Regions from separate parts of the Homo sapiens genome. Here all the other regions are linked to region 3. Evidence: promoter capture Hi-C in 16 types of primary human blood cells and fetal thymus (Javierre and others, 2016). All regions are on one chromosome and are shown on one strand. The core of a region is centred on a gene start or on the middle of the fragment in contact, and the rest is flanking DNA. Distances in the headings are between cores, read along the strand shown.

What was found. Contacts are between HindIII fragments. The CHiCAGO score rates a contact against its expected background, and 5 or more counts as called.
Region 1: a fragment that was not itself captured here is called in contact with the fragment with the promoter of RFPL3S in region 3 in 1 of 17 cell types (M1 macrophages); the score reaches 6.3 in M1 macrophages.
Region 2: a fragment that was not itself captured here is called in contact with the fragment with the promoter of RFPL3S in region 3 in 1 of 17 cell types (erythroblasts); the score reaches 6.2 in erythroblasts.

Annotation. Positions count from the first base shown.
Region 1 is chr22:32,983,160-32,986,274 of GRCh38, reverse strand. All of the region lies in intron 2 of SYN3 (synapsin III), which reads left to right. Among named protein-coding and RNA genes, the nearest start is that of SYN3, 74 kb to the left of the region's middle. RefSeq lists a silencer at 1-191. The HindIII fragment of the contact is 633 bases long and covers 1,194-1,826 here.
Region 2 is chr22:33,018,110-33,021,267 of GRCh38, reverse strand. All of the region lies in intron 1 of SYN3 (synapsin III), which reads left to right. Among named protein-coding and RNA genes, the nearest start is that of SYN3, 39 kb to the left of the region's middle. The HindIII fragment of the contact is 2,293 bases long and covers 479-2,771 here.
Region 3 is chr22:32,369,870-32,372,903 of GRCh38, reverse strand. It overlaps RFPL3S (RFPL3 antisense), which reads left to right and starts at 1,640. Exons shown (of 5, transcript NR_104232.1): 1 at 1,640-1,706; 2 at 1,963-2,005. The HindIII fragment of the contact is 20,480 bases long and covers 1-3,034 here.

The DNA of each region.
Region 1 (3,115 bases), core at 261-2,760, 610 kb before region 3:
GTACACACCCCCACATCGCAGTGGCTGTAGACCTGTGACTGTATTACAATGGTGTGCCAGTAGATGGCAGTCAAGTGTCTCCAGGAAAGGCCGGCCTACAGACAGTATTTCCTTACCCGGTCAGCGAACATTTGTTAAGCCTGTTGTCCTGTGCCCTAGCTCATTGTGCTGGATACTGGAGACACAGTGAGCATGGAGACTCAGTTTCTGGTTTCCAGGAGCTCACAGACTATATGTTTGGGGGCAGAGGGCAGCTAAGTGATGTGTAATGACAACGTGAAGTGGTAAGGGCTGGAATGGTTGTAAGTGCAGCGTGCTGTAGGAACCAAGGGAGGACGCTCAGCCCAGCTAGGGAAGGGGGTGCTGTCAAGGAAAACTCAGCAGAGTAGATATCACTCATAGGATCTTGAAACATGAGAAAGAGACAATCAAGGAAGTGCCAAGCAGAGGTGAAGGCCTGTGCAGAGGTTCAGAGGCAGGACAGCACAGGAGTATTTAGAGAAGCACAGGAATTTGGATGCAACCATGAAATAGACAGCAAACTGGAGGGGAAGCAGACCCCCAGTCAGCAGGGTCCAGATCATGAAGGACGCCAGGGCTCTGGACTGGATCCAAAAAGTCTGAAAGACCACTTAGGGTCTCCAGGAAAGGTACCCAAATTCTTCCCTCTAGAGTTTGGGTACCCAGATCACTCGTGTGACTTTGAGCAGAGACTTCTCCATCTGGAACACGTTGGGAGCAATCCCTGCCCTACCACCCCTCAGGGTTGGCATGAGGGTCAAATAGGAGGAAGGATGTGAAGGGTCTGGCTGTCCTTATAGGCCAAGGCCACCTCTTTTCCCCATCACCAGCCATCACTCCTTGCACCTGTGAGACAGATCAAAGCAAGGTGAGTCATAATTCTGCTTTGGAACCCCCAAGAGGGTAAGATTGTTTTGTTTATTTGTGGGTCCCCAGCACACAGCACCCACTAGGCACAGGGTAAGCACTCGATAGCTCTTTGCTCTTGTGGATTCTGTTTCAGGCCATGGACTACATACTTTGCAGCTTACTGTGTGCCAGGAACTATTCTCAGTGCTTTGTATGCCTTGTTTCATTTAATCCTCATAACAACCCTGTGAGGTGGCTACTACTATGAGCCTCATTTCCTAGGTGTGGAAACTAAGGCATTCAGAGGTTGGCTTACCCAAGCTTGCACAAGTGAGTGGAGGAGTTGGGGTCCTATCCAGGCTGTATGCCCTGAAGCCATTGCACTTTACTGCCTTGTTGCATAGAGGATTATGTGACTTTCTCACCACACCCTTCCCTGGTAGTTACTGTCACCACTTGACAAATGAGGAAACTGAGACCCAGAGGGCTAAGTGTCTTGTCTTAGAACACATGGTCAGTGAGTAGTAGAGCTAAGATTTTGCCCAAGCCTGTGTGATTGCAAATCCATGTTTTTTTTCCCAGTATGCTGGTGATTGTAATGATAGGTTACCATTCCCGGTCCCAGGCCCACCCAGTACTTCTTTTAAATTTGGAGCTTGGATTTAAAAGCAAGTGATTTTTAAATCCACGAAAGATGCCTACCTTGGATCCTGCTCTGGTCCTTATTAGCCACACCTCTCTTGACAGGCAGAGGAGTTAGGAGTGAGGGGATATTCCCACCAAGACCCTACAAATTGCACTCTTAGGCCATGCCCTGGGTACCCAAACTCTAGAATTCCCTCCTCAAAGGGACCTTAACCCAACTTCAGAGCCTATATAGGCCAATTCCTTGGTCCATTTTCCAAGGGGTGGCCAAAGGACAACCATTTGGGGAGGGGAAGGGAGTAGATGAAGCTTGGCCACGTGGTCTGGGCAATCCACATACCCGCACCAGGAGCCTCAGTGGTGCAGAGGAGAGTGGGTGGGGAATTAAGGAAGATCTTGGGTGAGGTCTGAGAACCAAGAGCTGGCAATCCTTGTGCTGCCACGTGCTGGGTAGAGTGCAAAGAATTCTGAGAAGTTTACATTCTGAGTCTTTAAGGTCATTATGAAATTGTATCTGCCAAGGAAGGAAGACAGACTCTTTGGGACTCTTTTTTTCTTTTTTCTTTTCTTTTTCTTTTTCTTTTTTTTTTTTTTTTTTGGATGGAGTTTCATTCTTGTCGCCCAGGTTGGAGTACAATGGCGCAATCTTGGCTCACTGCAACTTCTGCCTCCCAGGTTCAAGCGATTCTCCTGCCTCAGCCTCTCCTGCCTCAGCTGGAATTACAGGCGCCCACCACCACTCCTGGCTAATTGTTTGTATTTTTAGTAGAGATGGGGTTTCACTATGTTGGCCAGTCTGGACTCCAACTCCTGACCTCGTGATCCGCCTGCCTCAGCCTCCCAAAGTGCTGGGATTACAGGCATGAGCCACCATGCCCAGTGGACAGATGTCTTTTATTTAAATGTTTGCTGGCTTGATTTTGTCAATTTTAAATATTAGACATATGACCCATAGGTTTCCATTTGTCGCTTTGCCCCAGGCACTTCAAATACTAGACATGGGCTTGTCCTGGTGTCTGGAATTTGCTGATACTACCTTTAAGGATTACGATAAAATTCACAAACTGTATGAAAAGATTCTCTTTGCATGAGGCTGTCCACATGGGTATTTATTTGAAGACCATTGCTGAAAGAAAAAAAAAATCAAAATCTTGCTTTCGAGTCATACTAATAGTTCCTTTCCTACTAAACTACCGCCTAGTTGACATCTAAGCCCATCAGGACGTAAGAAAAAGTGGTGCTAATATCAGAGCTGTCAGTCAGTTTTGGGAAGAGATTAACTCCACCAGCATCAGCTAAGAGTAGGTAGAGAGACTTTGGAAGCAGACAGGCTGAAGCAGTTAGTGAATTTGTAGAAAGGATTCTTTCACAAATGGAAGGCTGAAAAATAATGGGTGATGACATCCATCTTCCAAGGAAAAGAGTAGGAGACTAAGAAGGTTGTTTAATGCTTAAAAAATTATCCATTAGAAATAAATCATGTGGCTGCATCCAGCTGATGGGAGACTTGGGGTACACATTTTTATGTACCAATCTGTCAACTCTCTTACTGTGGGAAAAGGGGAGAATGAGTATTAGGAAGCAAAGAGCTGTCTCCGTC
Region 2 (3,158 bases), core at 376-2,875, 650 kb before region 3:
TCTGCTCAAAGACCTGTGAAGTAGGAAGGGCAGGGTATTGGTATCCCCACTTTGCAGATGAAGAACCCGTGACTTAGATGTCACTGAGCTGCAAGAGGCAGAGGTGGGGCTCAAAGTCAGATCCATGCCAAAGCTCATTCTCATGTAAATACTGCACCTGCCGTGTTGCCTTCCAAACTAACCACACTGTCAGACTTTCTGGCAATGGGAAACACATTGTCTAAAAAAAAATCGGAATAATAATAGCAGCTGACACAGATTGTTTACCATGTGCCAAGCACTGTTTTAGATACTTGGCATATGTTAAGTTGCAGGAACTCTATGAGGTAGGTACTATTATACCCATTTTGCAGATAAGAAAACTGAGGCACAGAGAGGCTAAGTAATTTTCTCGAGGCTTTGTAGGTGGTAGATAGCAAAATTGGGATTGGAACCCAAGCAACCTGGTCCCAGGATCCATGAACTTAACCTTCAAGCTTACTGCCTCTGTCTACCTGTGTCCAGCACCAGAGTGCTGAGGCCATTGTAGTCCTTAGCCTGGGTTTGGGAGGGGGCTTGCACTTGAAGAGTCCCTTTTATATAGGATTTGTTTTCAAAGTGGTATAGGTTGGCCTTTTGTATGACCCAATCTTGCAAAAGAAATTTCTCCCCTTTTGCTTGTCATGGTGCCCAAAGTATCATCAATAGAGTCACCTCAGTGAATCTTAAAGACTGAGCAAAAAGATTGCTTTCAGGCCTTATACCTTATACCATTGGAAGAATCATTTTAATAGCGTGATTGTATTGAGGTGCTGGTACTCTGGGCTGGGCATCTGGCCTGTCCTCCTCTTCAGACACCCTCTCTTATTCTTAAATACCCCATCTCCTATGTCCTGAGGCTTCTCTGAATTAGAGGCTCCAATGACAAGGTCCTGCCAAGAGATCTGATCTTAGGGGTGAGGTATTGAGAAGAAGAAGAAGTGAGGAAGATGGGTTTTGAAAGAGGTACAGGATCCAGAAATAAACCTCACCACTTTCTCCATTTTCCTAGGATTGGGTCTATGTGAACAAACACGTTTCCATGGTTAACTATTCAACTGAATACTTCTCCTCTGGAGGAATTAAATCTGAAGGTGTTTGGTTAAATGCTTTGGGGCCTCTATGTGACTGTGGGGCCTCTGTGTTCAGAGTCTCTAAGCATTAATGACTCTCAGGGATGGTTGAAGTCAGGAATAACAATTCTGCATCCTGATGATATTGTAAAGATACCACTACTAAAAACGATGTTTCATTACTATTATTTGTATAATCATTCATTATTTCAAAAGCACGTCTGTGCATTCTTTCATTTGATCTTCCCAGTAGCTTCATGTGGATTGCTAAGAATAAGCAATGGGGCTGGGCGTGGTGGCTCATGCCTACAATCCAAGCACTTGAACTCAGGAGTTGAAGACCAGCCTGAGAAACATGGTGAAACCCCTCCTCTACAAAAAATACAAACATTAGCTGGGGGTGGTGGCACGTGCCTGTAGTCCCAGCTACTTGTGGGGCTGAGGCGGGAGGATGCAGTGAGCCAAGATCGCGCCACTGCACTCCAGCCTAGACCCAGTCTCAAAAACAAAAGCAAAACCAAAAACAAACAACAACAAGAAAATCAACTGTAATAAATAAATAACAGCAGGAGCTAGTACATGTAGTGCCTGACATGTCAGGCCTTGCACTGTGTCACATCAGTTATCTCATTCAGTGTTCATATCAATTTGTAAAGTAGCCGTTATTTTTTATTCCTGTTTTACAGATGAGGAAACTGAGGCACGGAGGTTGAATAAGCCACCCCAACTCTCATAGATATTACATGAGTAAGTGGCAGAGCTGGGATTGGAACCAGAGTCTGTCTGCCTTTGAAACCTGTGCTCCCAGTTACAGGTTTCATGGCCTCTCTAGGTATCCAGGCAGTGAAGGAAAAGGGGAATAAGATGCAGTATTCCGGGCAGAGGGAAAAGTATATACAAAGGATATGGACTTTTGGAAGAGCATGACTCATTAGAAGAGTTTCATCCTGCATGGCCAAAGTAGCAAGGAAAACCTTGAAGAAGATGGCAATGATTAAGGTATTTCTGGGTTACAGTGTGTCCTTTATCCTAGGGATATGTGGAAAGTCACGAGGGGGCTTCCTCTGGTTAGGGTTGTAGTTTGGAAAGCTCTCTCTGCTCTGTGGAAAGTTGACTGAATGACTGAGCTTAGAGGGAGGGAGCTGATTAGGAGCCTGTTGTAATAGGCAAGGGGAGAGAGCTTTAGCAGCACGTGAACCAAGTCTATGGTAGGAATGATGGAGAGGAGGGGATGATGCTGAAGATGTTAGTGGAGACAGAGTTGACAGGACTTGGAGATTGAGTGGCTGAAACTCACCAGGGTTAAGGAGGAGCAAAGTGTGAGACTTAGGTTCAGGTCTCAGTGAGTGGATGGGTCACAGGGTTCCGGAAGTGGGGAACCCAGGTGCATAAACTCATCTGAGGGTGAGCAAGGAAAGAAGTTTGGGGTGTCAATGAGTCACCCAAGCAGACATGTCCACTCTCCTGTCCAGGCTGATCAGTGGCTCATCTCTTCTCAAAGTAGCTGTTGCCGCTGTGGGGCAGCTCTCATTCCTCCTGCTTTGATGCAAAACGTATCCTTATGATTTTCACCTTACTTCTGGTTCTGGCTTCACCATCAAGTATGGAAAGTCTTTCATCCTTTATTTAACCTTTCCCAGTGAAGTTTTTCTTCATGCCACAGCCTCCAAGAAGTAAGCTTGCAAACTTGCCTTATAAAGTCTCTTTTTCTGTCTGGTCTGGTCACTCCTGCCCTCTAGTGGTTAGTGCTAGGGCAGCATGGGGCTGGGTACCCACGGGGCCTACTGGGTTCTATCCCAGCCCGTCTTCCCTGCCTTCCTGTCTTTTCCTAGGCTTTCACCAGAATCCCTCTCATCCGCACCTTGTCTTGCCATCAGATTAAGTTTGGCATTGGAGCGATATCCTGTGTCCTGTCCTAATGATTCAAGAGGAAAAGACCTTGAAAATTACATAATCCAGCTCCCCACTTTCACATCTGTGGACCAAAATGACTACAACGGCCTTCTAACCTGTCTGGCTCCTTTCATAGACACATCCTCTAGGTCTATTTCTACACAGTGGCCAGGT
Region 3 (3,034 bases), core at 391-2,890:
CATATATTTGTTCAATCTGGAAGCCATTGAAATTTTCTGTTTATAACAACACAGAATGACCTATTCTTTCAGCACCTACCCCATTACACCCTCTGTTTTATAATCACTGGACAAAATATAGCATCATCTATATTAATGCAGATTGTATACATCATTTGTGACCTATTTATTTGTTCTAGAAATTTGTACTTAGCAATGATAGACATTTGTACTGTAATATTTATATCATGAAGGGTACCTATTCTCTTTGAAACATAGCAACTCTCTCATCTTAACCCTAAAATTTTCATTTGTTCTATTTATTTTAGGGCAGGTCACTTTCAACAGCTTGTTTTCTTGGGCATATCATAAAAGTATTTGCAATTGGGTGTTATGTATCAGCCAGAATACACACGTAGTTATACATTTTGAAAGTTATCTAAAATTCTGCATTCAGAAACACTTTAATTATATGTATTAGGCTGGGCATGGTGGTTCACGCCTCTAATCCCAATACTTTGGGAGGTCGAGGTGGGTGGATTGCTTGAATCCAAGAGTTGAAGACCAGCCTGGGCACCATGGAAAAACCCCATCTCTACAAAATATTAGCTGAGCATGGCGGCAAGAACCTGTAGTCCCAGCTACATGGGAGGCTGAGTTGGGAGGATCACCTGAGCCTGGGAGGTCAAGGCTGCAGTGAGCCATGATCAAGCCACTGCACTCCAGCCTGAGTGACAGAGTGAGACCCTGTCTCAAATAAAAAATTATATGTATTCACCCAAAGTGTTCACCCCACCGAGAAGATGCACTGGTGAAAATATAGTGATTTTTTTTTCCTTTAAATACTCAGTGAATGGCCAGCCGTTTACATACACAATGGTAGACAAATTCCTCTGTGAATTCACAAAGTTTGGGAGATAAATAAGTGCATAGTAATATATAGAGATAAGTGGAAAAATAAGTTTCATAATTATATTGTGAGAGAAATATGATTTTTATAATATCAAGTAACACTTTTTTCTAATTCTGAACAGTTTATTGCTTCTAGAAACATTAGATCACTCAGGAATGGTAGAAATATGACTTTTTAGGGAAATATGACTTTTAAAATGTGACTTTAAAAAATGTCACTTTTTAAGAAACATGACTTTTATAACAATATCCATTTATGCTGTCTTTAATTCTGAACAGTTTGCTTATTGGTTCTAGAAATATTAGATGACTCAGGAATGGTAGAAATATTTGGCAATGGAATTTCGAATCGAGAATGGAACTTCTGGTTGTTACTAACATATCGGTTTTGCCCCTGCTCAGTTTGAAATTCTTGCCATTGAGTGTATTTTGGGGTACACAATTTCTCCTCCTAAAACTTATTTTAATAAGCACAGAATAGTAATTAATGAGCTTGGGTTTTGTTGTTTTTTTTTTAAGTAAAACGCCTAATCTTTTATTTTATTTTATTTTATTTTATTTTTTTACGGAGTCTCGCTCTGTCGCCCAGGCTGGAGTGCAGTGGCGCTATGTCGGCTCACTGCAAGCTCCGCCTCCCGGGTTCACGCCATTCTCCTGCGTCAGCCTCCCGAGTAGCTGGGGGCTCCCGCCACCACGCCCGGCTAATTTTTTGTGTTTTTAGTACAGACGGGGTTTCACCATGTTAGCCAGGATGGTCTCTATCTCCTGACCTCGTGATCCACCCACCTCGGCCTCCCAAAGTGCTGGGATTACAGGTGTGAGCCACCACTCCCTGCCGTAAAAGGCCTAATCTTTAATGACCCTCCTGTGCGTGTGAAAGCACTCTTGTTGGTGCAGCAGAAAGCGGACCTCACAATACACATTGTGACTTTACCCTGAGACGTTGATGATGCTCCTATCACCATGGTTATGTGATTGGGTATATCTTGCCCTCGGTCCTAACTGCCACTGTCTGTGCTGAGTTTTTCAAAGTTCATAGCAGGTTGAACATGCTTGCTGTCATTTTCACAGATTCTGGTCTTTCTTATGGGGAACCTGAGTTCCTGCATTAAAGGTATGTTCACATTGGCCTGTTGAATGCTGTCCTCTCAAATGTACTAGTTAATATTTAAAAATATATTTTATTAAAAAATTCTCCTCTGTATTTTTCATATGCAGTTATAAATGTGTTTCCCGGTTATGTTTTATTCCTCAATTTATATATTTGATTCTAGTATCAAGCAGGATGCCTTTGAGCTTTTCCTTTATTTAAAAGACATGTCTTATTTCCTGTTACATCTGGCACCCCTCAAACCACCCAATTAGGTATCCTTCTGGGAAAAATATGGCAAAGTATGTTTTAATGCAGTTTTTACCTAATTAAGAACCTATTAAAATCATTAATTTTAAAAATTAGGAGCAAAGCTAGAATGATGCAGATGTCTTTGAGGCTTTTAACACAACGAAGTGTGTCCATCTTTGTCTTTTGTTGTTGTTTTTTTGTTTGTTTGTTTGTTTTTGAGATGGAGTCTCACTCTGTCGCCCAGGCTGGAGTGCAACGGTGCGATCTCGGCTCACTACAACCTCCGCCTCCCGGGTTCAAATGATTCTCTCGCCTCAGCCTCCCGAATAGCTGGGATTTCAGGCACCCACCATCATGCCCGGCTAATTTTTGTATTTTTGTAGAGACAAGGTTTTACCATGTTGGCCAGGCTGGTCTTGAACTCCTGACCTCAGGTGATCCACCTGCCTCGGCCTCCCAAAGTGGTGGTGTTACAGGCGTGAGCCACCACACCAGGCCCTGGCCTGTTTTTAGTATGTCTTTCCTCTCTCCTTTTTCATGAAATGTGTATTCAGTTTAGTAAATTTGGAATATGTCATTTATATTCACATATTAACTTTTTGAAAAGAAGTAAGAATGTGTATTGTCTATGTGTCAGTGTGTGAAACAAAACACACTTATTTTTATGATTGGGGTTTATCCAAAATGATAGAGATAACAATTATAGTCAATCACCCAAACCACTTACCTTTCCAAAGGTAAATATAATCAAGTGTAATCATTTTTTCTCATCCAGAGAGTAGTTCATATTTCAACATACAA